2 separate regions of the Homo sapiens genome follow, and region 1 is linked to region 2. Evidence: promoter capture Hi-C in 16 types of primary human blood cells and fetal thymus (Javierre and others, 2016). All regions are on one chromosome and are shown on one strand. The core of a region is centred on a gene start or on the middle of the fragment in contact, and the rest is flanking DNA. Distances in the headings are between cores, read along the strand shown.

Region 1 (6,228 bases), core at 22-2,521, 760 kb after region 2:
ATATTCATTCCTTTCTGACTTGATGGCAATAGACACACTTTGGTGAAAGAAAGCTGTGGGAGAAACTGTTCCTTGGAAAGCAATAGCAGGCTGCACTCTTCACCAAGCCTGGCAGGCTGCTGCCCACTGTTCTATTACAAGCACATTCATTTCAGTCGGTCAGTGCACTGTCCTTTGTAAAGTAAAGAGTATAATTTCTTAGATATAAAAAGAAAGCAGAAATCTACCAGCAGGAAATTGAACTGAGGCACTGGGAAATTTAAGAGAAAATTGTATTATTTCTTTCTGTTTTAATACAATGGATAAACCAATCATGAGAAATAACATTCTCTTGGGGCCAAGTAGGGAAAGGATAGCTATGTAAAAGTACTAAGTCAGATGATCAGTCTCTAGAAATGCTTATGATACACAGAGACAGACACACGTCCCCTGGCTTATTTGCAGATGTTAATTTTAGGTTATTTTTATGCAGTATAGCTCCTTTTATTTCCTAACCAATTTACTCAACTCTGGGAAAAGTCCCTATGTACAGTGGAACAATTATTAGGATAATTATAGTAAAACATATACTAAATAAATTTTCTGCTAGGCAGATTAAAAATAAGATCCACTCTGATTTGCCATTGTTGCCTGTGAATTATAAGTTTATAAACATGAAAGTTGGATATTTTGATAAGTATATATTTAATAGATAATGCACACATATACATGTGTAATGTTGCATATATATATATATTTACACAGACACTATCATAAGCCCACAAATCTCACATCATGAGAAATCAGACAAATATTACATTAAATTCTAACGTGTCCATACCTTTCTTAATGCTAAAAAATGTAATTTCATTGATAGTGTAGAAGTATAAAGCTTAGTTATCTTCTTTCAAAATTCTCTTCTATTAAAATGGGGGCTGAGAGGAAAGAAGAAGCCACCTACATTTTGTCTCTAGGAGCCAAGAAAATTATGCTTTAGATATTGCCCACAGTTTTAGAGATAAAGTCCAACTCTCACCTTAGGCATAAAGTCCCTCATGATCCAGCACCTGCTTTTTCTCTAGCTGCTTTGGCACTTGGGACCCTTCACCGTAAGTACACCCTGATGCAGTCTTCAAAATCTGAAATGCTAGTTCATACCCTTTTCACATGCTTTTCTGAATGGGATGTAATCGTTTTTTGGATAGCTAAGCTGAAATTGTAATTCAAAATTAATCTTTTCTGGTTTTCACACCCCTTATATTTTCTGGTATCTCTCTCTCCTACAAGGAGAGTTGTTAGAGTTCAGGAACTTCATCTGCAATGATCTTGTGTTTCCTGACACCGTTTTGGCACATAGGGGAGGCTCTACAAGTGTTTATTGAGTAAAAGAATAAATGAGTGATTGACAATGAACTTCCTCATTTCTCTTCCGAAAGCCTTTAGCAGCATCTGATGCTTCTTAACATAGTTATGTCCAGGGAAGAACAACTTCTAGATATTTATAACTCATTGTGAATATAATAAATATGTGATTATATTGAGTTAGAGTCACAGGAGGCAGGACTATGAGAGCACTGAGAAACTGAAGAATAGGAGGACTAGGCAACCACCAATGGGGGGGAATGACAGCAAAGAGAAGTCTGGGAAACAAAGACAATTTTCCTATAGAAGACTACTTTTTGCTAGAGTCAGCCAAGCTTATGAGCATATAGTTCATATTTAAATCTAAATATTTTAGAATATATGAAGAATAAACCAGAAGAAAATACATTTGTTTATAAATATATCAAACTTAAAGCAGACCCACTGTGATCATAAGATTTAGAATATAAAAAACTTACCGTTTAGTAAACAGTGCCACTGTTCCACATTAGTGGTACTTGGGTAAAAACACACAATAGTCTTATACAGTGTGGCTTCCAAAGCCCCGAGTGTGGAGAAGCCCCCAGTATTCTATATTTTGCCCCAAGAAACTTTATATTTCTGGGAAAACTAAAATCCACCTTCCAGTATTCTAAGTAGAAATGCAAATTTCATAATTTTGGAAAGGGAATAGGTTTGATTATACACTAAGAATCTGAAGAGGAAGATGGTTCAAAAAGTTAAAAGTGAAATTTTATCTATATGTTTCTAAATGATTTCAATAAAGGAGAAAAGAGGAAACTTCTTAAATTAATAAGCAGGTTTGCAAAAGACCCATTCAAAGAATTTCTGCATTAAAAGCTCATTGGGTCCATAATAGGATAAGAGGAATCAGCCCTTGATTCAGTAGCGAATATAGTATCATAGAAGCCCATAGGAGGAGTGCTGGAAGTCAAAGTTCTAACCAACTGGGGGCTGCAGAAACTGAATTGGACAACCAAGAAGATAGTTTTGTATTTTAAACTATGAAGAGTACTAAAGCTCTCTGAAGAACTTCAATGAAGACGGATATCACAGAAAAAAAAAAGATTCCTCATTGGCCATTTAGCTTCCATCTTGTTTGTACTGAAAAAAACTCAAAAGGTGAAACAGTTATTAGTAAGTGGGAACTGAAATCCATGATGGATTAAGAAGTTGTAAGTGACTCCTGCCCCTACTCACTCTTCTGCTGCTCTCCGGGAGTTCTGGCTCCTAGTTTAACTGGGTTGAACTCAAAGATATTGCCTGCCTGCAAGACTTCAGAAACAGCAGAACTAGTAGGTCTAAGAGAAATCACAGCAAATAATAGAAGACTGGTGAAGGGCAAATCACTATCTAGTTTTCAGCAAAATAACGTGGATTTTACAAGCCAAAGCTCTGAGTTTGATACTGATTACAGCAGAGACTCTAAAATTATTAAAGAATGTCCTGTAATCTCTTGTAATAAAATAACAGTTACAAAGATCTAGCATGGTTTGCCTGAAAAAAGAAAACATGAAAACAAGATTCATCACTTTCTTTGTCACAAGTTACTAACCTCACAGATCACAGAAATTTATTTGGTGGTGCTTAAATTGTATGAAGGAATCTGACATACCTTTTCACTATTTGGTGGACAAGATGGAAAAAAAAGGAATTTAGGCAAATTATTAAACGAAGTAAGCTACTATACTTGAAGAGTACAAATTAATGAATAAATATCATACTATAGGGATTTCTTTTCTTTTCTTTTCTTTTTTTTGAGGCAGAGTCTCACTCTGTTGCCCAGGCCAGAGTGCAGTGGTGCGATCTTGGCTCACCACAACCTCCGCCTCCCAGGTTCAAGCGATTCTCCTGCCTCAGCCTTCCATGTAGCTGGGACTACAAGCACATGCCACCATGCTTGGCTAATTTTTGTATTTCTAGTAGAGACAGGGTTTCATTATGTTGGCCAGGCTTGTCTCAAACTCCTGACCTCAAGTGATCCACCCTCCTTGGCTTCCCAAAGTGCTGGGATTACAGGCATGAGCCACCATGCCTGGCCAGGGAATTTCTAGTTGTAATTTGAGTAAAGGCTTTGTCCATAAAGTTACTCAAAATATTTGTAAAACTAACAGATAACATGGAATGAAAGAATTAGAATATAAAATTTTTGGTAGACTATATTGATAGTCTAGAATTTCAATGATAATTGTGAGATCCCATTCTTGGATTAAAAAATATAAGACAGTTACAAAAGGGAAAAAGTGAGACTTGGTAGCATGTGTATGACTTAGGGATTTGAGCTGATAGTAAATTTAGGTGGAATCACTATTGAGATGTTATGGGGACAAATGCAAAAATCCTACTCTAATATGCAGAAAGTGATAGTCCCACTTATTTGTTCAGACCATATCTGGAGTAAGACAATACTTTGTGGGTTTTGCAGTTCTAGAAGAATTTAGGGTAAATTTATGAGAAAGGCAACAAAGATAGAACTCATCCTGATATCTTATAAGGAATAGTGGATGAAATTGGGAATATCTGGTATCAAGAACACTAATCTCGCTGGTGGTGGAGAAGGTGATAGTTGACCTCAGTAGTGTGAAAGGTTTTTATGTGGAAGGAAGGTAGACTATTCTATACAGTTTCAAGGGCTTGAATGACGGCAAATTGGTGGAAACTCAAAGAAGACAGATTCTGACATTATCACGAACTATTTTAATGGTCAGTGATGCTCAAGTATGGACTTCCTTTTCCTTGAAGTTGGGGATGGACTTCCAGATGGTGTGGAGTGGGAATTGAAAAATAGGAATATAATGTTGCACTTGATGAGTCAATGTCCTTTTTAAGCCTTGAAATTAGATGATTCTGTAATTTGGGGAAAATGTTTTCATCCCAGTCTTATTTTTTATTTTAACTCAGAGTTTTGAAAAATAAGAAAAAAATAAGATTGGAATATATGCCTCACCAGCAATACAAACATGATTTTAGGAAAGGGGATCTGAAGTCTCAAAGTGTTCAGGAATATTAAAACTTTTGTCTTGCAGATTATTCTAAAAATCACCATTTGCCATTTCATATTTCTAGCAATGCATCAGAAGGGACAATTTAAGTTTCATAGTCTATAAATAGCTTTGTCTTTCATATTTTTTTTTACACATAATTTTTGAGAATCTTTGAAATCAAGGGGAGGATGAGGCACAACTGTAGCTATTTATCCCACTGGAATCCCTGAAATACCCTTTCTAAGAGGGTGCCTATTGCAGGCTTGAGAAATCAATACTTAACCTATAGAAACAATTATTTTAAAACAGCCTTTCAGAGGGTGGATCAAGTTTGACTAAGGGCTAAAAGTGGTGAGACAATGGTTTCCTGCAAAATAAATTCAATAATTGTTTTGGCTCATAATATTTTTTTACACTGTGTCTGAACAATTAATGACTTTTTCTGGTAGTCTCTTGCTGAAATATCAACATAACTCTCAATGCAGAACAAGAAAGCTTAAGGCTGAATCCAAAAATAATACACTATAGAAAATAGCAACCAAACCCACCTACCTGATAGACACAATTTTACAAAATACACACAACAGCTGGGAAAAAAACATAAACATGGAGCCAAAACATGGAGATTTGGCTTGAAAAATAAATGGAAATTAGACATGGCTTAGCAACTGGATGATTACAATAGTTGACTGAACTGAACTTTACACTGGATGGTCTGGCATTGTTTAACCATCTAGAAAAACCATATGTAATATTTAGCTTTTCTTATTTTAAAAATTTACTTATACTAGCAAATAAGAAAGCTATATTAAACACATTTTAATTTTTATGATATTGTATAGTGTACACACACACTACCGTAAATTGGACAGTGAGTAATATTTAAATTGATGATGATAGCTATAATAACTTTCCCACTGTCAATAGAAAATCAATATGTCTTTATTGAATTCAGCAAAAATAAGCCAAGTTAAGCAACTGAATGCTTCTAAATTTGTAAAGTCTGCATCAAAATTGTCTAAGCTTGTCTATGGCTTCTTTCTGTTTGGCAAACACTGCAAATTTAGATCCCATGGCAGAGATTTTTGAACACTTTATAATTATTTTAATCTCCATCTGAGGATGTCAGACTGCTTCTAATTTGAGAATAATACTTCTGATACATTCTAAGAAGTTAAGTAGTTATTCTTCCAATAGTGCTAATAAGTGTGATCTTCCCTATTCACTCTTTTGCCCCATTTTCTTTGAAATTAGAATAATGATTCCATCTTTAGCCGTCAGCTGATCCACATATAGTCAACATCACAAAGGAACATAAATGATTGAAAAGTTAAGCCAAAATATGTTATTGAATATATCTGACCTCTGACAAGTCAGGCTTCACTATATGCCACTGTCTATTGGAGAATCATGTCATCATTGTTGCAAAAGAATGGACAAGGTATATACTGTTTTTTGTTTATAGTTTTGACAAATTTCCTATTTCCTCTACAACTGCTTTCTCTCTTTGCCCCTCCCTCTTGGAAGCATTTTCCGGAAACAATGGTTTCTGTTTGCTTGAATCAGTTGCCTCATCTCAAATGCCTACCTTCACCCAGCTACAAAATAAGCAACACTCAAATCTCTATAAATACATTTGACTGTTTCTCACGTGCAACTCTTCTTTGACTTAATTGTTGACTCTGTCTTGTATGATCAAATGTTTATTTTTTTCTGGGTGAATTATTACAGAATATTCTAAATCTCTAGATGATCCCTTTTTTCTATGTGCTTTGCCTCAGCAAACTCACTAGTGTGATCTGCCAAAAATACGTAATGCATTACAAAGCCAATTATAAATAATCTTGATAAATACGCCGTTTTGAATCACTCAGGTTATTCT
Region 2 (6,722 bases), core at 3,562-6,061:
TCTAGTGCTTTCAAGGGCTAAGCTTCAGGAAAATTCCCTGAGGTTGAATATGTTATCCTTTAATTACAAGGCGGGAATGAGGAATGGCTCTCTCTGCCTGTTCAGGTGCCAGACCTTCCTTATAACCCTGCTGGCAGGCAGTATCTATTTTATAGATTCTAATAGTAAAACTAAAGCTGAACAAAGTAAAATGCCATCAACTGATTGTTTTTATTTTCACAAAACCAAATGGTTGGATCTTTTTAAAAACCACTGTTATATGTATACGTTTTTGCACTGTGGAATAATTCACTTCAGAGTCACCCTATAGAATGAAGACAATGGTAATCAATTTCATATCGTAATTAGCAATGTATCACAACCAATCCCTCCATAAATTAATAACTTGAGAGATTTTTAAGATTTCAGTGGCTAAAACATTCAATCTAAAGAGGACTCTTTATAATTAGAACAATCTGTACAATAAATTTTCAAGCTGGAAAAATAGTCCCTTATCCAATCTGAAATAAGAGATTTCTTCTAGTTAAAATCTACTTAATTTTGATGTCACCAAAATATTTCTTGACTTTTTAAAGAAACAACTTACTTCTAGTTCTCTTAAAATAGTTGCTGCATCGTTTGTCACAAACAACTTCTCCAAGTGGTTGATAACCATTTTGTTCATTCCTCAAAAGTAACAGTTAAAAAAAGAAAAAGAAAGCCATTATTAATCAAATCCTTCCCCAAATACCCAGGAAAATCTAGTTAAGAAATTATAAATTTGTATATTAAAAAAAGAGCTTTGCAAGAAAACACATACTATCTATTCTTCAAGTTTATCTTATAGCCCCATGGGCATTCTCTGACTGCAGACCCATATTCTTTCTTCCCTTTCTAATGTCCTACAATATTTACTACGTAAGATGCCAAATCTCACATTTTTGCCAATTTCTATCTTCTGTTTGCAACATGACTGTCATGCAGCAAGTGCTCAACAGAAATTAACATGTAAAAAGGCCAAAATAATCTACTTAGTATATTTAGTTGTATGTTTATTCCATGAAACTGTATCATTTAAATTTAATTGGTGGTAGAAGGCAAGAGGAAGGAGAGAATTTTCTTCCTTAAACTATGTCACTTTTATATTTAGTGTTTGTCAGAATGAACATTAGGTACTATCTTACTAGTCAAAGTGTTATAATTTTTCTATCCTCTCAACAGGATAAAAAGTAATATATTGACCCCCATTTTTCTAAAGAGATGTGAGTTGATTGAAAATTAGAAATAACTAAAAATTGGAAATGAACTATCATTGAGCTATCAAATTAACTTCCGAAGTCATACCATAACATCCTCAGAACAAGTCTGAAAGAAGACGTAGTACACAATATTCTACTACTGTATCTTTACAAATATTAATTTAGAAATTACCATTTGGTCCATATGCTGTACGAGTGGTTTGGGCAAGCTCCTTGCAAGCTTGTATGTTTCTATACACAGCCTCTTCTAATCCTGAAAAGTGCTGTTAAAAAAAACAAACAAAAAACCCCGCTAATTAGACAGGACAGTGAAACAAAAATTTCAAATACAAGATATCTTTGCTTATATCTTGCCTCTAATAAAGAGGGAGCATAGCTTAGGTATTTGGCACAAGAGGGCTGGTTGCAAATCTTAGCTTTCTGGCTCTTTTTAAATTTGGGCAATTTTCTTAACATTTCTTCATTATAAAATGAAGTAATTATAATAGTACCTAACTCATAGGATTGTTGAGACAATCAAACAAGATTTTTTAATGTAAAACACAGCATTTGATATTCATAAATGATGCATACATTTCCTCTCTAGTTGAATGAATAAAGTATAACATTTTGGGGGACCGCAGGTACCTACTTACACATCAAAAGACTTAAAATTTTTTTTATTAAAAGTAGTGAAAAGTACAGGGAACCATGCTAAGACTAATTAGAGAAAGGGTATGAGGTACTTCAAGTAGAATACCTTTCCAGAATTTATCAGTATTTTCTAACTAACTGTTGAAATGTGGAATATTCTTATTGTGTTAGAATCTGGGCTTTTGTAAAGCCAGAAGTTCTTTAAGTATGTGCCACTGAAGTGTTTAGAGACTGAATACTTTTTTTGAATTGCAACATTATCCCAATGTATATGTATTGAAAAGCGAACTGCTCACGGTACTAAAAATTCTCACAAATTCTACACTGGACTTTTTTAGAGTTGAGGTTTACTTGGGTCCTCAGATATATTTCACTAATCTACTGTGCATGAGAACATTTCTTTAGAGAAGCGCTGCCCAATACAGTAGCCACTAGCTACATACATGGGGCTAGTGAAAGCAATCAAAATAAACTTTCAAGTAATTAAAATTAAAAAATTCAGTTCCTCAATTGCAGGAGCCACAGTTCAAATGCCCAGTAGCTACATGTGGGTAGTGAATATCACACTGGACAGCGCTGATACAGCGTATGTCCAGCACTGCAAAAAGTTCTATTTACATAGTACTGCTTTACAATACAAGCCATGATTTTGTGATCCAAAACCAAGGTTAATAGCCATTACTCTTTTTTGAGAGAGAGAGAGTCTCCTCTATCGCTCAGGCTGGAGTGCAGTGAGCTGAGATCGTGGCACGATCTCAGCTCACTGCAACCTGGGCCTCCCGGGTTCAAGCAATTCTGGAGGCTCAGCCTCCTGAGTAGCTGGGATTAGAGGTGCGCGCCACACCAGGTTGGTTTTTTTTGTATTTTTTTGAGAGGCGGAGTTTCACCATGTTGGCCAGGAACTCCTGGCCTCAAGTGATCCACTGACCTCGGCCTCCCCAGTGTTGGGATTACAGGTGTGAGCCACCAACCCCTGCCAATAGCCACTGCTTTAAAAGCATCTTCAGCAATAAGAACTGTTATTCCAGCAATAACACTTAAGTCTGAACTCCTGGCTTACACTCTTGCTTCTTCCCCTCACTCCCCATTCTGTGAGAAACTACCATTTGATCAGATCCCCTCATTCCCATACTTAAGACCCTTCAATGGTTTCCCAACCAGCTTAGGATAAAATGCAAATCCCTTTTCAAGGAAACAAGGCCCTACGTATCCCGGCCCTTGTATGGCTCCTCCTCTGAACTTACCATTCTTCCTTTCTTTGGTAAGCTTCAGCCCTACAACCTGTTGTTGTTGTTGTTGTTTTAAAAAAAAAACAGGTCAAAATCATTCCTTCCTCAGGGTCTTTGTACTAGTTAGTCCCTGAGCCTGGCATTTCCCCCTAAGTAAGAGGTCGGGGGAAACAGCCCAGGCTCAGGGGCTTCTCTCACTAAGCACTGAGCTAAGAGTTCTTCCCTAAACGTCTAAGTGTTCTGTCTATTCCTGATCCTTCTTTTACAGACATTTTTACCTCCTGTCATCCTCTACTATAGTGCAGTTTCTTTCATCATTATTTGGAATTCTCCTTTTATTTAATCATTATTTCTGCCTTAGAAGGACATAAACTCTACGACAAATGGGACTTTTGTCTTTCACTGCAGTTCCTTCAGTACCTATTTATTGAAAGAAATAGCTCAGTGTTCTGTAAAAAACTACTAGCACTGGAATGACAAATAATGTTTTGTGATACACGAGTTTTCCAAAACTGTATTAGTGAAAAAAACCCAAATTGGAAGCTATTATCTCAGCCTGATTTTTTCAAGGGAATCAGCCCATATCATTTTCAAAAGATTATTCCACCAACATTTACCTTGAACCCTGACATTTACTTACTATACCGACATTATTTGAAAAGTGCATCCTACAAACATGAACCTAGTTCTATTAAACTGTTAATGCTCCCCGTACCTCGCATAAAACCTTAAATTCAACCACACTGATCTATTTCTTGAATTAACAAAATCTGGAGGACACACAGAGGAATGCAATTTGAATAGCACAAGAGACAAATTTATCAATAGTGCAGTAAGATATTTTTTAAAACTATGCTACCGAACTAACGTTCAAGAAAAGGCCATTAAACAAAAGTGTTATCTGCACCCCTCTATCACTTATCCTGCAGATTACACAGAACTCAAAGACACCACCTCTTGGTCCAATCTCCATAATTTAAAGACGAAGGAAACAAAACCCAAGAAAGTTACATTTTAGATTAAGCCAGCTAACATAAGTTGGGACCGGAACTCATTTGGCTACAACGCATGGCTTCTGTCAACTAAGCTGAAAGCCGTATGTTTCTCACTGGGAAGCAAGCAACCAAGACCCGGCCCTTTTTCCCACTCTCTTCTCTGGATCGGCTAGTTCTCGTTCTTCCCCATCCTACAACTCGCGAGCTATGTGATAATCGACGTCGCAGTTCTCAAGACAATTTCATCTACGTTATTCAATTTCACCCTCACAACCTCCTTTAAGGGTGACGGGCCTTAGCCCCATTTACGGATGGAGGCAAAACGCACGCGCGGCTTCACATCCGTCCACCTTCAAGGTGTACAATGTCGATCGTGCCGCCGATCCCTCGGCCTTCTCCCGGTCGCGGAAGAAGAGAAGTGCCCGCAGGCTCCGGTGGCCGAGCCCTTCCAAAATCACCTCCCTTTCTGGAATCTTCTCTTCCCCCGGCCGCTGAGCCAGGGCAGCACGCTCAGCCCGTTAGTAGGCCCTCCTACTTCGCCGCGGCCGCCGCAGCCCTATGCTGACGCTCCCACCTCATTCCTTTCCTTCAGCCCTTACTTTCGCTCCCTCCTTGAGCATCTGGGCAAAGCCCGGAGCCTTGGGAACGTGAAGCGCCATGGCCAGCCTGCAGGAAGCAGTTCACGCGACCGCTCGGAAGACCGCGGAGGAAGCGAGGAGCACGCACAGCCTTCTGGGAAAGCAGCGTGGGGCCGCCTCACGCTCTTCCTGGCTCTCCAATTAGCCCACCCTTTCCCTGCCGCCAGGTCTGAAGCATCGCGAGAAGAGCAACCTCTGTGGCCAGAACCAAGCTGACGATCCCCGATCGGGTCGATCGATAGGGCGGGCCCAGGGAGCCCCTCGGGTTTCTGGCTCACGCACGCGCAGACAGCCCAGGCCGTGAGAGGTTGCTCCAGTCTGTGCTCTCTGACCGTAGTCAGTAGTCACGGCGTTAGATTTTTGCGGTTTTTGATCTGGAAGCCACACATCCTTAGCTTAATTTCCACGTATCTTCCAGACCCAGCCACCAACGTCAGGGCAGGTGTGCTTTTTTTTTCCCGAGGCAGAGCATCTGCCCCATCCCCCAAAATTGTCTCTAGGCGTCCGCTCTGTGTTGGGCACCATAGGAAGCGCTGGGAATGCGCACGATAATTAAAGTCGTCACTAAGAGTAATGTAGTACACATCAAGTGCTCAAGTGTGCCATATTCTGTGTGATCTGCTTTACATGCAGTATCTCTGTTAATGGTCAGTCTTAAAAATTAATGAATTGTCGGTTAAAATACCATTTAGTTTTCCTTCCATAAAATGGAGACGATACCATTAAAAATTAAAAATTAAATGGTACTGTCTCTATTTTGTAGAAGGGAAACTGAAGTTCACAAACTGTAAATAATTTTCCCAAGATCACAGAGCTAGTAAATATTAAAGCTAGAATTCCTATCTAGATCAGACTTATTGCAAAATGCCGGTTCTTAACCACTATCTATATTCCTCTTTTCTACTTCTTCCTGGGAATATAAATCCCTTTTACTCTTTTAAGATCAGATATAAATACATATTTATTTATCTGATTTATATATATAATATACACATTTTATATAAATATATCTGATTTATATATGAATTTATAGATAAATATAAATCCCTTTGGCTTGGTGGCATGCACCTGTAGTCTCAGCTGCTTGGGAGGCTAAGGTTGGAGGATCTGCTTGAGCCTGGGAGGTTGAGGCAGCAGTGAGCTGAGATCATGCCACTGCACTCCAGCCTGGGCAAGAGTGAGGCCCTGTCTCAAAAAAAAAAAAAAATTGCAAAAATGTAAATGCCACTGATATGGTTTGGATTTTTGCAAAAATGTAAATGCCACTGATATGTTTGAATTGCCTGCCCAAATATGATGTGGAATTATAATCCCCAGCTGTTCTTGTGATAGTGAGTGACTTCTCATAAGACCTGGTTGTTTAAAAGTGTGTGGCACCTCCCCACTCTGTCTCTTCCTCCTCCTCCAGCCTTGTAGGATGTGTCTGCTTCCCCTTCACCTTCCACCTTGATTGTCAGCTTCCTGAGGCTTCCCCAGCCATGCTTCCTGTACCGCCTGTGGAACTGTGAGCCAATTAAACCTCTTTTCTTTATAAATTACCCAGTCTCAGGTAGTTCTTTATAGCGATTCGAGAACGGACTAATACAGCCACCCTTTTCATTCTTGGAAAATAGAGATATTTTAAATAAAAACATACATATTATCATGTGATAGGATTATTATTTTTTAAATAACGTTAAAAATTTATCAGTTTTAATTTCTAATATAGCAAATATTCATACCTATAACCCACATAAACAAAAGACCTTTGGGGAAGTTAATTTTTAAGAGTCTAAAGGTGTTCTGAGACTGATACGTTAGAGAACTACTGTAATGATCAGTCCCGAACAACAGAACAATCCAAGATTTTTCCTGGATTAGCTAAGAAATAAACAAAAGCACATTCCTCTGACTCAGAGATAATATTACTTATAAAAATAGCTAACACAAAATAAAATTGAAATAAAACTGAAAGGAGCTAAAATGACACCTGATTAACATATTAATATA

The links. The method cuts DNA at HindIII sites, captures the fragments that hold promoters and counts their contacts. A CHiCAGO score of 5 or more calls a contact.
Region 1: a contact is called between a fragment that was not itself captured here and the fragment with the promoter of CCT8 in region 2, in 3 of 17 cell types (naive CD4 T cells, M2 macrophages and M0 macrophages). The highest score is 6.3, in naive CD4 T cells.

Annotation. Positions count from the first base shown.
Region 1 is chr21:29,835,947-29,842,174 of GRCh38, forward strand. All of the region lies in intron 1 of GRIK1 (glutamate ionotropic receptor kainate type subunit 1), which reads right to left. Among named protein-coding and RNA genes, the nearest start is that of GRIK1-AS1, 91 kb to the left of the region's middle. The HindIII fragment of the contact is 805 bases long and covers 870-1,674 here.
Region 2 is chr21:29,068,837-29,075,558 of GRCh38, forward strand. It overlaps CCT8 (chaperonin containing TCP1 subunit 8), which reads right to left and starts at 4,812. Exons shown (of 15, transcript NM_006585.4): 1 at 4,695-4,812; 2 at 1,411-1,501; 3 at 587-666. The coding sequence starts at 4,754. RefSeq lists enhancers at 3,884-4,795, 4,248-4,417, 4,796-5,707, 4,868-5,037, 6,584-6,722. The HindIII fragment of the contact is 10,437 bases long and covers 3,136-6,722 here.